Linked DNA regions of Homo sapiens: regions 1, 2, 3, 4, 5 and 7 are each linked to region 6. The links are contacts of gene promoters, found by promoter capture Hi-C in blood cells and fetal thymus (Javierre and others, 2016). All regions are on one chromosome and are shown on one strand. The core of a region is centred on a gene start or on the middle of the fragment in contact, and the rest is flanking DNA. Distances in the headings are between cores, read along the strand shown.

The links. The method cuts DNA at HindIII sites, captures the fragments that hold promoters and counts their contacts. A CHiCAGO score of 5 or more calls a contact.
Region 1: a contact is called between a fragment that was not itself captured here and the fragment with the promoter of WNT5A in region 6, in 1 of 17 cell types (monocytes). The highest score is 6.0, in monocytes.
Region 2: a fragment that was not itself captured here is called in contact with the fragment with the promoter of WNT5A in region 6 in 3 of 17 cell types (M0 macrophages, endothelial precursors and monocytes); the score reaches 8.6 in M0 macrophages.
Region 3: a fragment that was not itself captured here is called in contact with the fragment with the promoter of WNT5A in region 6 in 5 of 17 cell types (monocytes, M0 macrophages, M2 macrophages and 2 more); the score reaches 9.7 in monocytes.
Region 4: a contact is called between a fragment that was not itself captured here and the fragment with the promoter of WNT5A in region 6, in 1 of 17 cell types (monocytes). The highest score is 6.0, in monocytes.
Region 5: a fragment that was not itself captured here is called in contact with the fragment with the promoter of WNT5A in region 6 in 1 of 17 cell types (monocytes); the score reaches 5.1 in monocytes.
Region 7: a fragment that was not itself captured here is called in contact with the fragment with the promoter of WNT5A in region 6 in 1 of 17 cell types (monocytes); the score reaches 5.6 in monocytes.

Annotation. Positions count from the first base shown.
Region 1 is chr3:56,307,198-56,310,483 of GRCh38, forward strand. All of the region lies in intron 2 of ERC2 (ELKS/RAB6-interacting/CAST family member 2), which reads right to left. Among named protein-coding and RNA genes, the nearest start is that of ERC2, 160 kb to the right of the region's middle. The HindIII fragment of the contact is 9,723 bases long and covers 1-3,286 here.
Region 2 is chr3:56,265,677-56,268,933 of GRCh38, forward strand. All of the region lies in intron 3 of ERC2 (ELKS/RAB6-interacting/CAST family member 2), which reads right to left. Among named protein-coding and RNA genes, the nearest start is that of ERC2, 200 kb to the right of the region's middle. The HindIII fragment of the contact is 3,668 bases long and covers 1-3,257 here.
Region 3 is chr3:56,239,458-56,242,579 of GRCh38, forward strand. The region is part of intron 3 of ERC2 (ELKS/RAB6-interacting/CAST family member 2); the gene reads right to left. Among named protein-coding and RNA genes, the nearest start is that of ERC2, 230 kb to the right of the region's middle. The HindIII fragment of the contact is 3,700 bases long and covers 1-3,122 here.
Region 4 is chr3:56,438,706-56,441,951 of GRCh38, forward strand. The region is part of intron 1 of ERC2 (ELKS/RAB6-interacting/CAST family member 2); the gene reads right to left. LOC105377099 (a long non-coding RNA gene) reads left to right here. Exons shown (of 3, transcript XR_940862.3): 3 at 2,414-2,672. Among named protein-coding and RNA genes, the nearest start is that of ERC2, 28 kb to the right of the region's middle. The HindIII fragment of the contact is 2,454 bases long and covers 358-2,811 here.
Region 5 is chr3:56,291,117-56,294,138 of GRCh38, forward strand. All of the region lies in intron 3 of ERC2 (ELKS/RAB6-interacting/CAST family member 2), which reads right to left. Among named protein-coding and RNA genes, the nearest start is that of ERC2, 180 kb to the right of the region's middle. The HindIII fragment of the contact is 4,131 bases long and covers 1-3,022 here.
Region 6 is chr3:55,485,742-55,488,815 of GRCh38, forward strand. It overlaps WNT5A (Wnt family member 5A), which reads right to left and starts at 1,565. Exons shown (of 5, transcript NM_003392.7): 1 at 1,239-1,565. The coding sequence starts at 1,244. It overlaps WNT5A-AS1 (WNT5A antisense RNA 1), which reads left to right and starts at 1,877. Exons shown (of 2, transcript NR_046656.1): 1 at 1,877-2,138; 2 at 2,249-2,567. The HindIII fragment of the contact is 5,010 bases long and covers 243-3,074 here.
Region 7 is chr3:56,221,618-56,224,786 of GRCh38, forward strand. All of the region lies in intron 3 of ERC2 (ELKS/RAB6-interacting/CAST family member 2), which reads right to left. Among named protein-coding and RNA genes, the nearest start is that of ERC2, 250 kb to the right of the region's middle. The HindIII fragment of the contact is 764 bases long and covers 915-1,678 here.

The DNA of each region.
Region 1 (3,286 bases), core at 343-2,842, 820 kb after region 6:
GTGAATTCACAAAGAACGAGAAGCCAACTTCAACATCAGCAGCACCTGAAATCATCACCTACCAGGTCAACAAGAAAAATGTATATATTTTTTGCCTTTCCAAAGTAAAGAAGCAACCTGAATCCTTGCGTCTTATCTCAATTTATCTTTTCCATGCAGTGCACAATTACAGTGTAGGGAGGAAAGTATGGGTTTTGAGCAATATTGGCTGAGAGTCTCTCAATTACCAGAGCTCAGTTACTGAATCTCCCCTAAGCCATAGTTTGGTCATCTGTAAAGTGGGGATAACAGTGTAGACCTCACAATGTTATTCAAAGGCTTCAGTGAGACACTGTGTGTTCCTCTAGACAAGCCCTCAAGAAAAGCGAGTCCTCAACTTCAAATACTGGTGACATTGGAGCCAAAATGCCAAGACCATTAACCTGGTGTACTTCTTTAACCAATCAGGCCACTGAAACATTAAGCATCCTCATGGCTTTTACCAGACTGTGTTTCAATAGTGTTTCCCCAAATACGTTCCCTGAAACAGCATTCTGCAGATGTTAATACGTGTTCTGTTGGGGGAGTAGTGGAAAGGAAGGGTTCTATTGTCATGTATCATATAATCATGTATTCACTATACACACACTTGCACACACACACACACACACACACACACACACACAGAATGACCCTCTCAAGGACAGTTTCTAATTTTCATAATGAAGTATAGAAGAAAGGTGAGAGGACCAGAGGGAAACTGTCTCACCAGACCGTCGGCACAAGGGAACAATTTCAGAGAGAACAGGTTTCCATTCCTCTTTGCTTAGCTATAGCTAGATTGAGGGGCTGGGGGTGCAGAGAGTTTCCTTAACCTTGGATTACTCTGTCCTGTCCTCTCCATCAAAACTCACATGCCTCACATCCACCACTCACTCATCTGACAATACTGCTCCAAAGCTGCCAACACTATGTCCACTTCACAAGAGCATAAATTGTGGTGGCTTAGGGGATTTGACTGCAATCACATCATTAGCAGATACAGGCCAGTGTCTAAAATTGAGGTTTCCTCCAGCCAATTCTACAGTCTCCCCTGCTCTAAAAATACTACAGAATTTCATCTTGAACAACTCATATAAGCTCCTATATTCATTCAGTTCTGAAAGAAGTTACAATGAAAATACAAGAAACTAAGCCCTACTTGAGTTTATATAAAAAAGAAGGAAAAATACACTTTGCCTTAGCCAACGTTTATAAGAGTGACTTCCAATAGCTACTGGAGTCAGAATCTAATCCAGATCTCAGAAGTCTAAAACACAGAAAGGTAACTAGAATGAAAATATAATTATATATGTATGATGTGCATGGAACACACAATTATTTAAATAGGGAATAGCCAGATGTTTAGAATCTACTGTGTCTTATCTCCAAACATGGAAAATATGAGCTCCTGGCAGGTTTGAAAAACTGTGTGACCTTAAGCTCTTTTCCACACTATGGGGAAAAAACAAAAATGATAAAGTTTTGCACTGTAAAGCAGCTTAGGGTTTCATTGCTATGAAAACCGTCTCCAAGCTATATAAAAATATGAATTGGCTTATATCCAAAAGTCGTGAAGTTTTTTTTTTTAATAAATCCATACTCCTTCTCAAGCAAGTACTTACCATAACTCTTTCAAAGAAAACAGAATCTCTTTGCAGACAACTTGGCCTGCTTTACTTCTCCTGTGACTTTATTTTCTTATTAATCACTTCCTAGTTTGTCTGTAATTAATGTGAAGGGCAGGTTCTCTGATCCCTTTCTCTGTAATCCTATGTACAGGCTGTACAACACTCTTCATGACTTCAAATCTTCCTTAGGCTGTGTCATGTGTGTGAAAAGACAAACAGCAGACCAGCTGAAAACATGTGGCCCCAGTGTGTGGTGGAAGAGTTGGCCTGCTGAGGGAGGTATAAAAAATTAATATTTAGACATATGGTCTAGCCTCTAGGCTTTCTCTTTTGGGGTAGAATACCCCAAGGAGAAGCACATATAACTAAATAAAGAATATGGATAGGTGATTTTTAAAAGCACTGGGACTCTGGGTTCCTCACCCACACACTGTCATTGATAACTGCATAACTCACTTTGGTTGATAATATGTGACGTTTTGCCAAGATTCATAGCACTAAGAACAGTATACATGGGAAAGCCCTCTTGGCAGTTGCTTTTGTACACAAAGAGGAGTTCTGGTTTTCATTACAGACCAATACTCTAAGGTGGCACAATATTGGAATACTGCACTGAGCTTAGAGTTAAGGACTTAAGTTCTAATTCTAGCTTTGCAACTAACCAGTTACGTGATCTGGGGAAAAATCACTAAACTTGTCTCAGCTTCCGAGAACAGTGGTGAAGAGTTGAGTTTTGAATCCTGGATCTACCCATGACAGCCTGTGATGCCTTGAACAAATTACTTAAGTACTCTGAGCATCAGGCTACTCATCCGTAAACAGGAAATAATAATTGTAACTCACTACAGGGTTCATACAAACACCACAGGAGATGCTTACTGAGTGAGCAAACAAGTTCCCTTAAAGCCTGAAGCACAGGGCTTGGCACATAATGAATGCTCCACAAATGTTAGCTATTTTCATTATTTTGAGACACTGGTGGTGGCTAGAGGCCTGGAATTAAAATTTCTGTCCTCCCTCCTCCGATTTGGGCAGGGAAAAGAAACGGGCATAATGAACATAAATCTTTGATTATCAAATAAATGCAACAGTGGGAAACAAAATGCTAAGCGCTTTGGCATTTTTTTAAATAAGAGAAAAAGGGAAATAGATGTTTTAAGACCAATTCGAAGATGGATATAATTTATTTCACATTAACTGACCTGTAAATAACTCTACAAGGGACTCTCAGGAATACCAACCATTTCTGTTTTGAAGGTCAGTGTTCTTTCCCTGTTGTTAGCCAGTAATCCACAACCAACTAAAGGATAATGGCATGCCCTGTTATCAACACTTCTCAACCTGATACAGGTTACAAAAAAAACTACAGTTTAAGAAATACTGGTATTTTAAAAATGTGTTGAGAAGCTACCCCAAACGTGTAATGATAGAAACGATAGCTAAAATAGAAACGCTTATAATATTAACAGTCACAGCCATATACAGTTATTATAGGACGGCTCTTTCATTTAACTGCTTAGCAAATGTTTAATGCCAATGATGTTTTAAAGGTTTTATTGAAATTTCCTTCCCTGTCACTTCCTCTTCACCCTCCAACATGTTCATTTAGCAAAACTGCTAACCATCTAAGTACTTTT
Region 2 (3,257 bases), core at 530-3,029, 780 kb after region 6:
GAAAACATTTGTGAACCATATATCTGATAAGAGGTAAATATTCAAAATATATGAGAAACAAAACTCAATAGGCCAGGCACAGTGGCTCATGCCTGTAATCCCGACACTTTGGGAGGCCAAGGTGGGTAGATCACCTGAAATCAGGAGTTCGAGACCAGCCTGGCCAACATACTGAAATCTTGTCTCTCCTAAAAATACAAAAATTAGCCAGGTACAGTGGTGTGTGCCTGTAGTCCCAGCTACTCAGGCGGCTGAGGCAGGAGAATCACTTGAACCTGGGCGGTGGAGGTTGCAGTGAGTTGAGATCATGCCACTGCACTTCAGCCTGGGTGACAGAGTGAGAATCCGACCAAAAAAATAAAATAAAATAAAATAAAATAAAATAAAATAAAATAAAATAAAATAAAATAAAATTCAACAGAAAAAATACAAAAACAAAAACACAAATAACTAGATTTTTTTTTTTTTTTTTGAGACGGAGTCTTGCTCTGTCTCCCAGGCTGGAGTGCAGTGGCACAATCTCGGCTCACTGCAAGCTCCGCCTCCCAAGTTCATGCCATTCTCCTGCCTCAGCCTACCGAGTAGCTGGGACTACAGGCGCCCACCACCATGCCCAGCTAATTTTTTGTATTTTTAGTAGAGACAGGGTTTCACCGTGTTAGCCAGGATGGTCTCGATCTCCTGACCTTTTGATCCACCCGCCTCGGCCTCCCAAAGTGCTGGGATTACAGGTGTGAGCCACCGCACCCAGCAAATAACCAGATTTTTAAATGAGCAAAGGACCTAAATAGGCATTTCTCCAAATAAGTCAAAAAATAGTCTTCAGGTTTATGGAAAGGTGCTCAACATCACTAATCATGATGGAAATAACAAATCAAAACCACAATGAGATATCTCCCCACTCCTGTTGGAATGGCATTAGCAAAAAACAAGAGGTAGCCAGGTGAGGTGGCACATGCCTTTAGTCCCAGCTACTCGGGAGGCTGAGGTATAAGGACCACTTGAGCCCAGTAATTTGAGGCCAACCTAGGCAACACAGCAAGACCTTGTCTGTGTAAATAAATAAATAAGCAAACAAACAAGAGGTAACAAATGTTGGCAAGGATATGGAGAGAAGAGAACCCTTAAATACTGTTGGTCAGAATGCAGACTTTTAAATAAAACTACCATATGACACAGCAATCCTTCTTCTAGATATATACTCCAAGGAAATGAAGTCACCACCTCATAAAGATATCTGCACTCCCACATTCACTGCAGCATTATTCACAATAGCCAAGATATGGGAACAACCAAAGTGTCTGTTGACAGATAAATGGATAAAGGAACACATACAGGTTGAGAATCCCTTATCCAAAATGCTTGGGACCAGAAGCATTTTGGATTTCTGATTTTTTTTTCAGGTTTTGGAATATTTGCATTATTCTTAACAGTTGAACATCCCAAATACAAAAATCCAAAATCCAAAATGCTCCAATTAGTTTTTCCTTTGAACATCATGTCAGCACTTTAAAAGTTTCAGATATTGGAGCATTTCGAATTTCAGATTTTTGAATTTAGGATACTCAACCTGTATACACACACACACAGTGGAATATTATTTTGCTTTTAATAAGGAGATCCTGCTATTTGGGTCAACGTGGGTGAAGCTATAAGACATTATGCTAACTGAAATAAACCAAACACAGAAAGAAAAAGGCTACATGATCTCACTTACATGTGGAATGTTTTTTAAAAATCAAATACAATAGAAACAGGATAGAAGAATGGTTATGGCAGGAAGCGGGGACAGTGGGTAAAACAGGGAGATGTTGGCAGGGCGCAGTGGCTCACGCCTGTAATCCCAGCACTTTGGGAGGCCAAGGCGGGTGGATCATGAGGTTAGGAGTTTGAGACCAGGCTGGCCAACATGGTGAAACCCCGTCTGTACTAAAAATACAAAAAAAAAAAAAATTAACTGGGTGTGGTGGCAGGCACCTATAATCCCAGCTATTCGGGAGGCTGAGGCAGGAGAATCACTTGAACCCAGGAGGCGTAGGTTGCAGTGAGCCGAGATCTTGCCACTGCACTCCAGCCTGGGCAAAAGAGCGGAACTCCATCTCAAAAACAAAACAAAACAAAAAAACAGGCAGATGTAGGTCAAGTACAAAGTTGTAATTACATAGGATGAATAAATCTAGAGATCTAATGTTCAGCATGAGGACTATAGTTAATAACAATACATATTATTAACTATAGTTTTATAGATATATTCCAGTATTGCATAATGGAAATTTGCTAACAGAGTAGATTTTAGGTACTCTTACCACACAGACACAATCAAGAAAGGTAACTACATGACATGTTGGATATGTTCATTTGCTTGAATATTGTAATCACTTCACAATGTACAGTCAATTCCTGCATCATGATGTCTCGATAAATGACGGACCACATATATGACACTAGTACCATATGATTATAATACTGTATTTTTACTGGACGTTTTCTATGTTTAGAAATATTTAGATACACCATTGCATTACAATTGCCTACAATATTCAGTCCAGTAATATGCTGTACAAGTTAGTAGCCTAGGAGCAATTGGCTATACCATATAGCCTAGGTATGTAGGAAGCTATACTATCCAGGTCTATGTAAGTATACTCTACAATGTTCACGCAATGTCAAATTGCCTAAAACGCATTTCTTAGAACGTATCCCCATCGTTAAGCAACACATGATTGTGTATCAAAACATCATGTTGTATACCTTATATTTATACAATAAAAATAAATAAAAAGCACATATATAAAAAACAAAATAAATATAAGAGAATTCTAAAATTCTAAAATACATATTTGTTCTAGCCCCTACACACCTTCAGCAAGTAAAAACTTGAGAAATTCTCAGTATTCCAGAATAATACAGAATTTATATTTGCTAACTTACAAAATAAATCAACTTTTAATGTGTTATAATTGTTTAATTTGTTATATTATAGTAAGCCTAACTGGTATAAGTGACTTGACTCCCACTTAATCTAAAGCAAGTCTAATAACTTTTAAATTTCAATTAAACATTGAAAGACCAAAATAGAAGGGCAGGCCAATTTGGTAAAGTTTACTCCCCCAATCTAACAAAACGTATCGCTTTACAAGTTCTAATTTTCACCAGCCTTCTCCCAGACCTTTCCACACTATATACTCAGCTGACTTTAACCTGATGTGGAATGTCCCTAAAGTTGATTGTGCATGACTGTATATGTATATCAAAAC
Region 3 (3,122 bases), core at 57-2,556, 750 kb after region 6:
ATCCCACCACTGCACTCCAGCCTGGGCGACAGAGTGAGTCTCTGTCTGAAAAAATAAAATAAAATAAAAAGAAGATAAAAAGAATAAACGAAAGCCATGCTAAAAGCAGATAAAGACTAGAAACACTGAGAAGTATTTACTATTATTACTTGGGAGCATTAACTTAGAAGTACCTAGAGATGTCAACTGTGAAATACTAATCTGAGTTTTAATTTTTCTCATTTTTATACTAATTACAAAGACAGATGTGCTTACTACGCGCACTGCTTAAACAAGTATAGTAAAAGAAACAGCTTTCCCCCTTCTGATCGGAGGCATAAATAATATTTCTGTAGTATGTTCTATTCCCATATATCACAGAACTGGCTGAAATGTATCTCTGGCTTCCATAAATCATAAGTACAGTTAAGCAGAACCTCCTCCTCCAATGTAGAAAACAAACATAGAGCAATGAAATCTAGAGTTACACAATATTTGAGTGTGAGTTTCTTCATAGTCCATTTTAATTGATTTATACAGACAGGAAAGAGGGGGAACATTAAACCTTTTACAAACCTTCCCGAGTTTGCCTAATTAGGCCAGTCCTGCATAAAGAGCTTCATAGTTTTGGAAAATCCAAGAGCAATGAAATAAAAATGAGATAAATTAGGGGAAAACACACATATTCTAACACCTGTTCTTAAATCCTGTGCTTCTAACAAAGGGAAAGTTATAAGTAATGGACACGAAGAACAATGACCAGCTTCTTCACCAGGCCACAGAATTGTATCTCTGAAATTTCAATCCACATTTTACCTTTAAGAAGGAAATCTGTGAAACAAGCCAAAACCATCAAAAGTGTACATGAAAAGTCATGCTTGATGGGAGAAGTTTATTTAACAGAACATTAACTGAGATGTGTAAAATAACTAATCTCAGTCAGGACTGAAGATAGTAATTTTTTAAAAAAGCATTTTCAATTTTTGTTTAAAAATGTGCTCAGAATCTTCATGTCTAGTAAGTTGCTGAGTAAATGTAAATGTAAAAACTAAAATACCTAAAGTAAATGACCCTGTTTAAAAAAATATTTAAGGCAGTGCTAAATCATCTACCATATTTCTTCTGAATTTAAGACACCAACAATTATAAGAAGCATCTTAATTTATACCCACAGAGAAAAGAAAATCTTGTAATAGCACCACCAACTGTGAGATGCAGTCCAATTTCAGAGACACAAAAATATGCTTAAAAATGAGTCATTTAAATATGGAAAACATATCCAGCTATTAAACTTGAAAAAGCTAGAATAAACATTTGTGTAAAACGACCACTTAGCAAATACTTGTAGAATAAATGGAAAAACGAATGACTTTACAAACAACTTTCTTTTTAAAATTTTTTTATATATTCAGGGGTACATGTGCAGGTTGGTTACGTGGATATATCGTGTGATGCTGAGGTTTGGGTTTCCATTGTACCCATCACACAAATTGTGAACTCTATATCCAATAGGTAATTTTTCAGTCCTCACTCTCCTTTCCTCTCCCCCATTTTGGAGTCCCTAGTGTCTACTGTTACCCTCTGAATGTGTACATATACCCATTGTTTAGCTCCCACTTACAATTAAGAGATCACACAATATTTGATTTTCTGTTTCTGAGTTACTTCACTTAGGATAATGGCATCCAGCTCCATCCATATTGCTGTGAAAGACATGAAAAGGACTGATATCCAGAATCTACAAAGAACTCAACTCAACAAGAAAAAACAAAAACCCCATTAAAGAGTGGGAAAAGGACCTGAACAGACATTTCTCAAAAGAAGACGCACAAGCAGCTAACAAACACATGAAAAAAATGCTCAACATCACTAATTATCAGAGAAATGCAAATTAAAACCACAACAAGATATCATCTCACACCAGTCAGAATAGCTATCATTAAAAAGTCAAAAAACAACAGATGTCAGTGAGGCTGTGGAGAAAAGGTACGCCTTATACACTGTTGGTAGGAATGTAAATTTATAACAGCTCTATGGAAAACAGTGCGGAGATTTCTCAAAGAACTAAAAATAAAACTACCATTCAACCCAGCAAATCTACTACAGAATATCAACCCAAACAAACAACTTTCTTGATAGAAAATTGGAATAAGGAAAATTTCTGTATATATGATCATAGAGATAAGATCATAGATCATAGAGCTATACATATGATCATAGAAACAGATAGTTCCCCCTTCACCGAGTCTTTCCCTTACTACTTTGGACCACCTTTCTCTTCCATCTCAGAGTTCCTACAAATGTTGGCATAAAAAAGCACACACTCTAACACTAGTTTTACATGCAAACACATATCCACATACATACACACTCACCTACATGCTAGAGCAGGGGTCAACTAATGATGACATATGGGTTAAATGCCAGCTGCCAGTTTTGTAAATAAAGCTGTATTTGAACAAATTCATGCTCACTTGTTTATGTATTTTCTATGGCTGCTGTTTCCATGCTACAATGGCAGCATTAAATAATTACAAGAGACAGAATGGCCCTCAAAGCCTGCAGTATTTATCATCTGGCCGTTTAAGAAAAAGTTTGCTGAACAATTCACAATTGCAAAAATATGGAACCAACCTAAATGCCCATCAACCAACAAATGGATAAAGAAAATGTGGTATATGCACACCATGGAATACTACTCAGCCATAAAACGGAACAAAATAATGGCCTTTGCAGCAACTTGGATGGAGGCCATTTTTCTAAGTGAAGTAACTCAGGAATGGAAAACCAAATACCAAATGTTCTCATTTATAAGTGGGAGGTAAGCTATGAGGACATACAAGCATAAGAATGATATAATGGACTTTGGGGACTTGGGGAAGGATGGAAGGCGGAAGAGATAAAAGACTACATATTGGGTACAGTGTACACTGCTCAGGTGACGGGTATACCAAAATCTCAGAAATCACCACTGAAGGACTTATCCATATAACCAAAAACCACCTGTTCCCCCAAAACTATTGAAATTAAATTTAAATAAATAATAAATAAATAAAGTACATGACAGCAGCAATTTAGAAAGTGCATAATTTATTACATTTATAAGCTCATAACAAAATGAATACTTAGGAACTTTTAAAATG
Region 4 (3,246 bases), core at 335-2,834, 950 kb after region 6:
CTTCCTCTGTCTGCTCCCTTTGTATCTAGAGATACACATTTCTGAGGTCTGTGGCTAGGCTTGAGGTCCCGGAATGTCATAAAATTTACACGCACACAGATTTAATCCTCAGTGAATTTACCTGCCTACCTGGCCAAGGCTTTGGAGAATCCCAATAACCAACAAACAAAGTTAGTTTGTTCCCTTTGGAAACACACACACATATAACATACAACATGAAAAGATGTATTATCATGTTTGAAATATTGTTTCCTTATTTAAAAAGTAATATATGTTGCCACTGGCCCATAGATTTCTTGGGTTCTCCTTTTCTAGGTTTAATAACAGATGTATGCTAGTATCATAGATAGATTGAGAAGCTTTCCATTTTTCATATGTTCTGGAACAGTTAGCATAATACCAGTCTTCCCTATTCCTGAAATATTTTGTAGAACACACACATAAAACTGAATGGGCTTGGCAGGGAATGTTGACTCCTGCTGTAATGCTAGCTACTGAGGAGGCTGAGGCAGGAGGATTGCTTGAGGACAGAAGTTCAAGACCAGTCTGGGCAATATAGCAAGACTCTGTCTCTAAAAAAAATTTTTAAATTAGCCCAGTGTGGTGTCATGTGCCTGCAGTCCCAGCTACTTGGGGAGAGTGAAGCAGGAGGATCACTTGAGCCCAGGAGTTCGAGGCTACAGTGAGCTATAACTGCACCACTGCACTCCAGCCTGGGTGACAGAGGGAGAGACCCAGTCTCTTTAAAAAAGCAAAAAACACAGAATGGGCCTAGTTGTTTATTATCTTTTCACTTTTTCACTATGTTTACTTGTCTATTTGGGTTTGCTACCTATTTTGTGTCAATTATCATTAAAACGTCCCTTCACAAACAGTCTATTCCGTGTAGATTTTCCAGTCTTATTGGCATTGCTTTGTATAACTTTTCTTTAAAATTTTTTAAATGATATAGCTTTTGGTTTTATTAATATATTTTACTGCATCTTATTTTCCATTTCATTGATATCTCTTTATCTTTAATAAAATTTCTACTTCCTTTATGGTTTTTTTTTGCCCTTTTGCATTGAATGTTCATTTCTCTTTAATCACATTTCCTAATGAATGCATATAAGATTATACACATGGCTGCATATTCCAGAATTCTATGTATAAAACTCTTATTGGCATTTGTAAATACCTTGCTGTTTTTATTTTGAAATTTTTCTATCCCAGGAATTATTGAGAATAATATATTTAAATGTCAAAGTGGATAGAAATTTTATGGTAAACTTTCTAGTTCAAATTGTATAGCATTGGGATCATAAAATGTAACATATATATTTTCCAATCTTTGAAATTTGTCAAGACTTTCTAATTGGCTTATTAGTTTTTCTTAATTATTAAACCAACTAATAGATTATTATAGAAAATTTAGAAAATACAAATATGCATAAAGCAGAAAATGAAAACACTCTCAATCCTGTCACTCATAGATAACCTCTATTAACAAGCTAGCATAATACCAGTCTTCCCTATTCCTGAAATGTTTCGTAGAACACACACATAAAACTGAATGCGGCCGGGCGAGGTGGCTCACGCCTGTAATCCCAGCACTTTGGGAGGCCGAGGCGGGTGGATCACGAGGTCAGGAGATCGAGACCATCCTGGCTAACACGGTGAAACCCCATCTCTACTAATAGTAAAGTACAAAAAATTAGCCAGGCGTGGTGGTGGGCGCATGTAGTCCCAGCTACTCGGGAGGCTGAGGCAGGAGAATGGCATGGACCCAGGAGGCGGAGCTTGCAGTGAGCCAAGATCACGCCACTGAACTCCAGCCTGGGCAACAGTGCAAGACTCTGTCTCAAAAAAAAAAAAAAAAAAGAATGGGCTTGGCAGGGCATGTTGACTCCTGCTGTAATCCCAGCTACTCAGGAGGCTGAGGCAGGAGGATTGCTTGAGGACAGCAGTTCAAAACTAGCCAGTATGTATTATGTTACTTCCAATTCCTTTTAAGTGTGTATGTGTGTGTGTGCAGTTTTAGACAAAGCCAGACAATATAAAGACTATGTAAATCAAACTATATAAAGACTATATATAAGTCTTGTATTTTCCTTTTTCTCCATGTTTTATCTTAACATCATCTCCATTTCCCACTTAACATAGATGCCACAAAGTATTTTTATAACACAAGATTTTTGACAGATACTATGAGCCTCCAAAGATGGCCATCAAAAGTCCTCTCCTTCCTATACAGAATTGTCTGTAGTTCCATTAGTTCCATCAAGAAATTGATTCTATTTCCTTTGTCCTTGAATCTGGACTGGCCTTGTGACCTGCTTAGACCAACAAATGCAGTAGAGGAGACACTGTTCCAGCTCTGAGTCTAACCCTAAAGAGGCTTGACAGTTTCTGGTTTTGCTCTCTTAAAACTCAGCTGCCATGATGCAAAGAAGTCCAAGCTATCTTGCTAAAATTAGGAGCCACACAGAACGGCCCTGGAAGATGAAATACCACATACAGAGAGAGGCCACGTGAAGGAGAACCAAAGCACCCAGCCAAGAGTCAGCACCAAAACACCAATCCAGTGAGACAAGCCATGTTGGAGCTTCCAGCCCAGCCCAGCCACCGTCTTTAATCAGCTGCATGAATAACAGCCATCACTATATGTAACAAGACCACCAATCAACCCACTGAATCAGGTGGGAAGTAAGAAATTATTATTTAAAGCCCCACTCCAAGTTTTACAGATTTTTGTTACACAGCAAAAGAACTGAAACACTTAGGTAATTATTTTTAAAATGGAAATATCATAATTAATATTGTGATTGATAAAGCTTTATAATATTTTGATTGATAAAGCTTTTCAATGTTCCGTTTGAGCAATATTCAGATTGATAAAGCTCTTACTTCCCTAGGATAAATTCTTTTTGTTGTTGTTGAGACAGACTGTTGCTCTGTCTCCCAGACTGGAGTGCAGTGGCATAATCTCGGCTCACTGCAACCTCCGCCTCCCGGGTTCAAGTGGCTAATTTTGGTATATTTAGTGGAGACAGAATTTCACCATGTTGGCTAGGCTGGTCTCAAACTCCTAACCTCAAGTGATCCACACGCCTCGGCCTCCCAAAGTTCTGGGATTACCGGCGTGAGCCACCATCCCCAGCCTTCCCTGGGATAAATTTTAAAAGAATTATAAAATAAAAATGAAACAGCTGGATACAGTGGCGTGTGCCTGTAGTCCCACTGCTTGCGAGGCTAAGGCAGAAGGAA
Region 5 (3,022 bases), core at 418-2,917, 810 kb after region 6:
GTCTATTAATCCATTTCTTTTTCTTTAATGAGATCAGTTGTGTTTCAAATACTTGATCGCTAAAACTTCTAGATGGAACAATATGTTCTTTGCAGAAAAAGCTAGAGAACAAGGTAAACGTCAAACAATGTCTTATCAAATCAACCTGCATCCAAATACATCAGACAATGCTAGTGAGTAATGCTGAGTTTCGGCCAACCCTTTGGCTCACATTAGCACATCAGTTGGAGTTCCTGCGCAATGGTTTTGGTCTTCCAAGTAAGTTGAGATCATAACCTTTTTGTTGTTGTTTCCTGCCAGACAAAGAAGTGGTTTCACACTCAGCCTTTTCCAGACCACCAAAAGACAATAAGACACTAAAGCAACCCACCCCATATGCAACTCCTGCCAACTCCAAATCTCCTAAAACAATAAGCTGAACAAGGCCAGGAGATGGGGTTTATGTGAGGTCCACCACCTCTGCCTAAGAATGAATCATAAAACCACTAGCACTCCATTCCCCAGCTTCACACTGCCTAGCCCCAACCTACTCGAACTGTGCATAATGAAAATGAAATCAGGAACACACTGAACCTAAAACCTCAAGTACATTTTAAATCTTGTTTTAGATTCATCTATATTAACAGAGGTCAGGCAATTTCTTTATTCAAGCTAAGTTATTCTTACTGGTATAATGACAAAAGTGGTCAGACACATTCTTTCTACTAAAAAAAAAAAAAAAATACCCTGACAAAGTACATTCTAAAACTCAGTAGAGAATATGGAAATAGCTTGCAATAAACTTTGCCTTATAAAATAACTAATGAAGGAAATAACCCAGTTATTTGGCAATGGGAAACAACCATTTGTATATTATTACGTATTTGGTAGGTCATTAATTAGAAGCACTTTTTATTTTCTAGCATAGCATTTTTCAAAAATGTCTTACAAAGAACACCAGTGCAACAAGAGAAAAGCAAGTCACGTAAGTTTGAGAAGCTCTGCCTTCTCTGGTCCCCTTCTTGGAAATGACTAATGCATATTTGCATATTAAAGACTGAGACTGTAACTCTGTGGAATCCCTCATTTCCCCAAGTTCACTTGGCACTGCAACCCTTTTTCTCTCATAACACATATCAACAGCCCACAAAATGGCTGTTCTGCCAAGCACAATTTGGGGAAAATTTCTTCTAGAAATGGGATGTAGGCCAGGCACGGTGGCTCACACCTGTAATCCCAGCACTTTGGAAGGCTGAGGCAGGCAGATCGCTTGAGCTCAGGAGCCTAGCCTGGGCAACATGGTGAAACCCCGTCTGTACCAAAAATACAAAAAAAAAAAAAAAAAATAGCCAGGCATCGTGGCACATGCCTGTAGTCCCAACTATTCAGGAGGCTGAGGTGGGAGGATCACTTGAACCTGGGAGGTAGAGGTTGCAGTAAGCCGAGACTGTGCCACTGTACTCCAACCTGGGTGACAGAGTGAGACCCCGTCCCCCACCGCCCCCCGCAAAAAAAAGAAAAGAAAAGGGACATAGTAAAATGGTTTAAGAGCTGAGACTCCAGAGTCAGGCTGATTCAAACACTAGCTTCACCATTTGTTAGCAGTGTGACATTGGGTTTGTCCCTCTGTTCCCCCAGGTAAGATGGGCAAAGTAACAGCACCTACCTCCTAGGCCATGGGTCTTTCCATCTGAGTGGAACAGTCTTCTGAGATCCTCACATGGCTGGTCCTTTTGGTTATGCAGGTCTCAGTTCATACTGTCACCCCCTCCAAGAGGCCTTCCCTGACAACCCAACATAAAATTAGCCCCACCCACATCACCAGTGCTTCACTCTCTTCTTCATGACACGCCTCTATTTAAACCATAAAATTGTCATCTATTTTCCCCCAATAGAATGTAAGCACCATGAAGGTACATTTTGTTAATTATCATTGCTATATCCCAAAACAGATCTTCAATAAGTATTCATCCAACGAAGGAATGAATGGATGGATTAATGAATGAATGAATGGATGGATGAATGAATAAATGAATGAATGAATGAGATGATTCAGTGTGAATCAACGTAAAGCATTCTTCATGATGCCTGACACATAAGCTGACACATACAGATGCTATTTTGAAAACTTTTGGGGAACCGTGAGTGGTTAATACACACATAATCATAATTCTCCCAATAAGTAACATTATGACTCCACAGTGTATCCTCTTGCTGTATTAGAGGTAAACATTTCACAACATTCATTCAGAGGTGTGCCAGTAAACCAGCTTTCAGGAATGGGCAAGGGAATGGGGAAGGTAGTCCCTAAGAGTAGCATCTTCCAATTTCCATGGTGTAAATACACCAAATATGACCAATTCCAGGCTACGTGTGGTTTAACACCAGGATCATGAGATTCCTGAGAATTTAACAAATGGCTCTCACAGGGCAGTACAACCCTTCTCATGGGAATGATCCTTTCAGGCCTTCAAGTCTTGTTTGCTGAGTTCAAGTTTAACATGAGTCTTTTATATACAGATGTATTTTCCAAATTCTCCCCCTCTTGATGAGCTAAAATAAGGGCTACCTACTCACTTTGGTCTGATGCTCAGGGAAACTAGTTGAATGTATTGGTCTGCACTTTCTGTTCTCCCTTCTGTGTGCTTTCAAACTGGTGTTTAGGGATCTAAACATGATCTATATCCACACCAGACCATTGTGAGAACCAGCCAATCTCAGAAAACCCAAGATGAATTGTGTTTAGATTCATTTAAATGGAGGCAGCCACATAAGGCACCATCTAGTAAGTGCTATCAATGAGCAGAATCTAATTGCAGAAGAAGAATGACTCCACCCTGACCACAAGATCCCAACAAGGAGTGAGAAATGGTGCTGCAGATGGAGATTTCTCTGGCATCACAGCCTTGCTGCCCCTTGGCATCAAAATAAAACAGCAGCTTTTTCCAACTATAGTGATCCTCTATCAACTGCAGTTTTGAGATAACACAAGAAAAATTCCAAAATCCACAGTTAGTCTACATGCAAGTAACAACATGCCAGT
Region 6 (3,074 bases), core at 315-2,814:
TAAAGAGAGAAGAGAGAAAAGAGAGGCGAGAGAGGAGAAGGGGCCTCGATACCAGACAGGGATTAGAAAGTCAAACAGGGCCGTGGGGTCTCCAGACTTGAAGTTTTTTGTTGTTGTTTTTTTTAACTTTTTGGGGGGAAGAGGGGTTATTTGCTTCCAGGAAACATCTTAATTTCAATTCTAACCTTATTTTCTAAGAAACTTAAAATGGGAAAGACCAGAAAAATGGAAATAGGAATCGAAGCTTGGAGGACAGATAAGAAAAATTGTTTAGAAAATAAAAACTTATGTTGCAGGAAGAAACGTTAACTTTTCGTAAAAGTGAACTCTCAGTGACCCTCGGAGTGTGTGATTCGGCTTTAACATACAACTGACAATTAAAACAAACAAGAGTTCGCAAACTGGCCCCCGCCTGCTCTCCCAAAGCGGAGGCCCAAGTGTTTTCTAAAGGACAAGGCGGACTCCGCTCAGGGGGCCGGGGAGCGCTGTCCCGGAGTACGGGATTACAGCCACTACCACCACAACTCCCCGCCCCCACCACTGCTGCAAAGTGCCTGAGCTCACCCAGTGGCGGCTAATAATGCTAATAACGCGACCCCGCTCCCCGCGCCGGGGTGCGCGCTGGCCCCCCGCCAGGCACTCTTAAAGGCAAAGGGGCCTGAAGCGCTCGAGTTACTCGGCCAAGGCAAGCCTACAATCTGGCCTCCGTCGGTGCGGGGGGGTGTCGGGGAAGGTGTACGCCGCTCTGGAGTAGTTGGCCCCTAGTTCCTCTGCGGGTTCTCTCAACCAAGGAGTCCCTTTCCCCATCCCGAGCCCCGGCCACACACCGTCCCGGTGCCCGCGCAGTGGGCGCTTGGTAAATATTTGTTGAATTGAATCATTATCCTGTTACTGAAATATACATAGTAAATTACACTCGATGTTCTCAGAGCAAAAGGAAAGTCGTCAGTGAACCGCACTCAGTTTGTCTACTATCGCTCTTCCCCACTTTTTCTCAAAAATCAAAATTGTTTGCAGAACGGGTGGTGCGACCAGAAGTGATCTCCTGGGACACTGAGGCAGTGCGCCCGGCGTGGAGGGCGAAGGGGTAGGGGTTCCTGCCAGCGACGCTGGAGTTCCAGCTTCTTCAGGCGGTTGGGGAAATGGAGGGATAGGAAGAGGCGAAGGGAACTCAGTTAACTTCCAACAGGGGGTGGGGGGAAGTAAAGAAAAAAAGTGGCAGCGCACTGAACACCTACCTTCATGGCGAGGGGGAGGGGGCGCGGGGAGGAAGTCGCCACCCGAGCGAGCGCAGCCGAGGAATCCGAGCGGAGCGACCGGGTTAAGCCTGGGGGGACGGTCAGGAGCAGGGCTGCGGAGTCCTCCGGCGCGCGTCCGGCGGGCGCAGTGAACCGGAGCTGAAGCGGGCACTGGCGCCCGGGCCTGGACTCCCGAGTTGGGGCAGAGCTGGGATGCGCCCAGGAATGGAGGGGGCGCGGACGCGCGCGAGCCGGCAGCAAGGGCAGGGCCTGGTCGGGGCGCAACTAGGGAGCCGCCGGTCCGGCGAGGGCGCGCAGGCAACTGTTCCACGGAGAGGCGCTCCGTTTCCAACGTCCATCAGCGACGGCGGTAATTAGGGCTTTCCAACCCCAAATGTGGGCGTGATTGTGCAAAAGACCTTACGACAAATAATAATAAAAAGAAATTCTTCACAAGAGGGTGAAAAAAATGTACCACTACTCAACTGTGGCCCGGGGCGGGGGAAGGGGGGCGATCTGTGCGCCCAGGTGCCCCCAGTTCATTCACACCACAGATTCTGCAAACTCTTGGCGGCTCACGCCTCCTGATCTCCAGCTCCTCCTCTCTGGGTCTGTAGCCGAAACGTCTGCTTCCAGACGCTGATCCTGCAGCCGCGAGTTAGTGTGGACGTCTCTGTACACACACAGACACACACCCCAACACACACACCCCCGCTGCAGCTTTGGGGCCACAGAACAATCAGGCGCGCATGGCTTTTTCTCCGGGAGATGCCGCTGAAAACGCACAAGTCGCCATCTGAGCTGCAAGAGTCAGCCCCAAATTGTGTCCTTTCATTTTAGGGTTCGGCAAAAACGGGGAGCAAAATAGGTGAAAGTCGCCCCGGAACTTATTGCTGTGCGGTGAGCTGGAGGGGTGCGACTAACCCAGGGGAGACGCGGGCTCCCCCCCCCCACCACGTATCCCGTTCTTTCTCTCTTCGGGTTGATCTCTCTTTTCCCCGTTTTTCCAGGGCGAAGGGCGAAGAGCAGCGAGTGCACCGCGGGCGCGAGGCTGGGGAAGGGCGAGAGCTCGGAGCTCCGCGGCGGCGACTCAGCTCCGGCGGTCCATGGCCGGCGAAGCTGCCCACCTCCTCGTTTGGCGCCCGGGTCCGAGGGGCGGGAGAGCGGGCCGGCGGGAGGCGGGCGGTCCCGGGCACAACGGCGGCGGCGGAAGGGCTCGCTGGGCAGCTGCCGCACGGACCCCGGCTCTGGGCGGCGGAGGCGGCTCCGTGGAGCTCGCAGCAGATTTCCACGCGATCCTGTGCCCCGCAAACAGACTGACCGACCGCGGGGACGCGTCCCCCCCTCCCACCCCCCAGCCCTTCTGGCCAACTGCCTTACTCTCTCCCTCCCTCTCTCCAGACTCCTCTTTCCCCTGGTGTTCTCAGAAGGAAGAAAAAAAAAAAAAGAAAGAAAGAAAGAAAGAAAAAAGTTCTTTAAAGTTTCAGAACTAGGGGCGGCTGGAAAGAGAGAGGGAAGGGGGGGGAAGAAAGAAAAAACTCAACTTTGCTATGCGCATGCGTGGTGAGGCCGGCCTATGACAAACTCTGCAGGATTTTAAAGCCGTACTACGGGCTGGGGTGCCGGGAGGCGGGGTACACTCTCCTTGTCTCCCCTTCTCTAAGTTCCCCATCCCCCGCGGCATCTGCTGAAAGAGAGAGGTCCACTCCGCAGCCGCTGCCTGCCTGCCGCCTGGTTGTCTGCGCTCCTTCCAGAGCCACCGACCGGCGGGAGGCTGAACCCCAACTTCCCCGCCTGGACCCCTTGGCTCGCCCGCGTATCCCAGACCGCTCCCAC
Region 7 (3,169 bases), core at 47-2,546, 740 kb after region 6:
AAAGCAGCCGGGCACAGTGGCTCACGCCTGTAATCCCAGCACTTTGGGAGGCCGAGGCGGGTGGATCACGAGGTCAGGAGATCGAGACCATCCTGGCTAACTCAGTGAAACCCCGTCTCTACTAAAAATACAAAAAATTTGCAGAGTGTGGTAGTGGGCGCCTGTAGTCCCAGCTCCTTGGGAGGCTGAGGCAGGAGAATGGTGTGAACCCAGGAGGCGGAGTGAGCAGAGATCGTGCCACTGCACTCCAGCCTGGGCGACAGAGCAAGACTCCGTCTCAAAACAAAAAAAAAAATCTAAAAAGCATTTCAAAATTCCTGAAACAATCTACACAATAGTACAATGAGAAGCTCTGTCATCTTCTGATTAAAAAATAAAAACTGAGGATACAAGAAGTAATTGATGACTCAGATAATTCACTCATCAGTGTAAGAAGAGATACCATTTTACTGTCAGGTACTGTCAAGAGTATATTAAAATGTTTTTAGTAATCAAAGGCAATGCTACTAGCAACATAGGACTCCAGATACTGAAAATTACTGAGGGTACTACATCCATGTGAAAATTATTGGTGCTGAGAAAGGCAGATAATATGAGATATACTGGTTGGAAGGACAGAGCAGATTAAAGTTATAGATTATATCTTCTGTTTGTGAGAAATGTCCACAACATACAGCTTGAACCCAGGTTCTCTAAGCCACATCCACACTACATTCCTCTTAGTTTCCCATGCAAACAATTTCTGTTTTTCCCTGACCTGCTGCAGAGAATGTCCCCCTTCATGGAACACCATGGACACACCACCACCACCACCTCCTGCTCCCCCATCATCCATTGGCCAACTGTTATTCTTCTCTCAATTCTCAACTACAACACCATTTGCTTGGTGAGGCCTTGTCTGACTGTTTAAAATAAGCTTGGGTGCTCTTGCGTACCACTGCCCAAAATTTTCTGTCTTCCCCCTTTCTGAACCATCTACTCATAAGTACTTATCTAATTTTTGGCTCCCCTAGAATGGAAGGTCAGAGTACAGTCACCATGTCGATCTTGAGCAATGAATATACTCCACACCTCCCCCATAGTAAATGCTCAACAAATATTGAATAGATGAATGAATGATAAACAAATGCTATACAACCGCTATAGCTAGATGCAAAATACATCATAGTCATCTTGTTTCTATGGGTCACAAAACCATACAAAAGCCTCCTGGCCACGACATGTGAAATGGAAAAAAGGAGACCTCTAGACAGACTCCCTCAAGCCTGGCAGAGCTTCAGGCAATGCCTGTATCTTTCCTCCATCCTGGGAACAAGCAGTTCCCTTCGTTGGCTTCGTATTGAGACCATCATACTTGTCTCCTCCCTCTATCTGCTCAGGGAGCAGCCATCCCCAGCTGGGTGCCTCTTCTCATGACAGGAATGAACACAGACTGTGCCACCACAGACCAAGCTCAGAGAGAAGAATTTAACCACTTCCCTCCCAAAAACAGGGCAGCTGACCATGTCTGTAGACAAATGTAGCTCTGTGGAATCTGGACTGTCCTCATCTCTTCATGTTCCATTTTTCAAAGGAATCTTTGTTTCTAAAATGAACATTTTGAAAACCAGGAATAGAGCATCCAAGTAAGTCAGTATGAATGATCCCACTGGAGGAGATTCCTTTGCTGGAAGAGCAAAGCTTGCTGGCATTGTGGTGGGACCTCTGTTAACCACTGTCCCCATTTCACACCACACTGATTGAATTATGCCTCTTAGATGGAAAAATATTTTCCCCAAAACCAAGATGGCACATAAATTGAAGGCAACATACGCAAGAAAGTGGAAGCCACATTTGTCAAATGCAGAGAGGATGAATTAATAAAAGGACAACAAACTCAAAGGCTACCAAAGAAAAATGGCAAAAAAAAAAAAAAAAAAAAAATGACAACCATTTTAAGTCTAGTTGACTTAGCAGGATAACCACACTATTTCTGCTGACACTTTAGCCCTGCAATGTATATAACTCTCCCCTTTTTTAAAATCCCTGCTTCTTGGCACCTATACCCTGACTACTGAACCTCTCTTTGGCACTCTCTGTAGTGACTAATTAGGACCCAGCCCTAGTAATAAAGCAGGGGGCCAACATTTTATCTTAGGATCCTTATTCTCTGAGTGACTATTTCTATGCTAAAAATTACTTGCAGTATTTTCCTCTCCACTAAGTACATTTTTAAAATACATTCTACAAAACATTATCTCCACATGTTAAAAGCTGCTAATTCTACATGTTAATTCAATCACATCTTTCAATGATATATTCTTACATAACTTCAAGTGAATAATATGTAAAGAGATATCCATAGCAACTTAGAATATAAACAAAAAATGACATATAGATTTTAAAGTTTGTGTATGTCCACCATCTGTCAATTAGTTTCACTAAGTAATATATTCATATACTCACAGAGTTATGTATAATCATATTTTTAGATTCAGATCAGCAAGAATGCTCAAGTTTAGCACAGCCAAAGGCTGGCTAGAGTGTGGAAAAGTCAGCCCTCTCATGCTCTGTGGGTGGATGTCTTAAGCAGCACAACTCATTTATAAGGGAATGTGGTAAAATTTTAATTAATTGTCCCACCAATCCCACTACTAGGAATTTGTCCAGTGAATTATTTACACAAGGACCTTAGTGTTTACGTTAAAGGATGTCTATAGCAGCATTATTCAGGGCACACACAAAAAAACCAAAATGTCCAAATCCAGAATAAAGAGGAAATAAGAAAGATAAAAATGACCAGGAGTTCAAGCTACAGCTTGAGTGGCAGGGGTGAGGGGTTTTTCATGGTGATGGAAATAGAGATGGCGGGGGTAAAAGGAACACAGAGCAGGTGAGGAGAGTACTTGTTTATTATTGTAAGGGAACAGTGCCACAGTCTATGCATCCTTTGTCATGGCATATGACAAATTTAACTATAGAACTTTGAGCAACTCTGAAATTATTATTGTGGCTGCAAGACAGACACACCATGCAAACACTGAAACACGGGTCAAGGCTTTCCAAGAAAAACACCCACACACGGGTTTTAATATGCAAGAATACCCACAGTTACAAACCAAACATGCATGTATTCTACATACAGACAACTGCACATTATTCTCTTCTACATTCCACTTCCTGGGAGGCC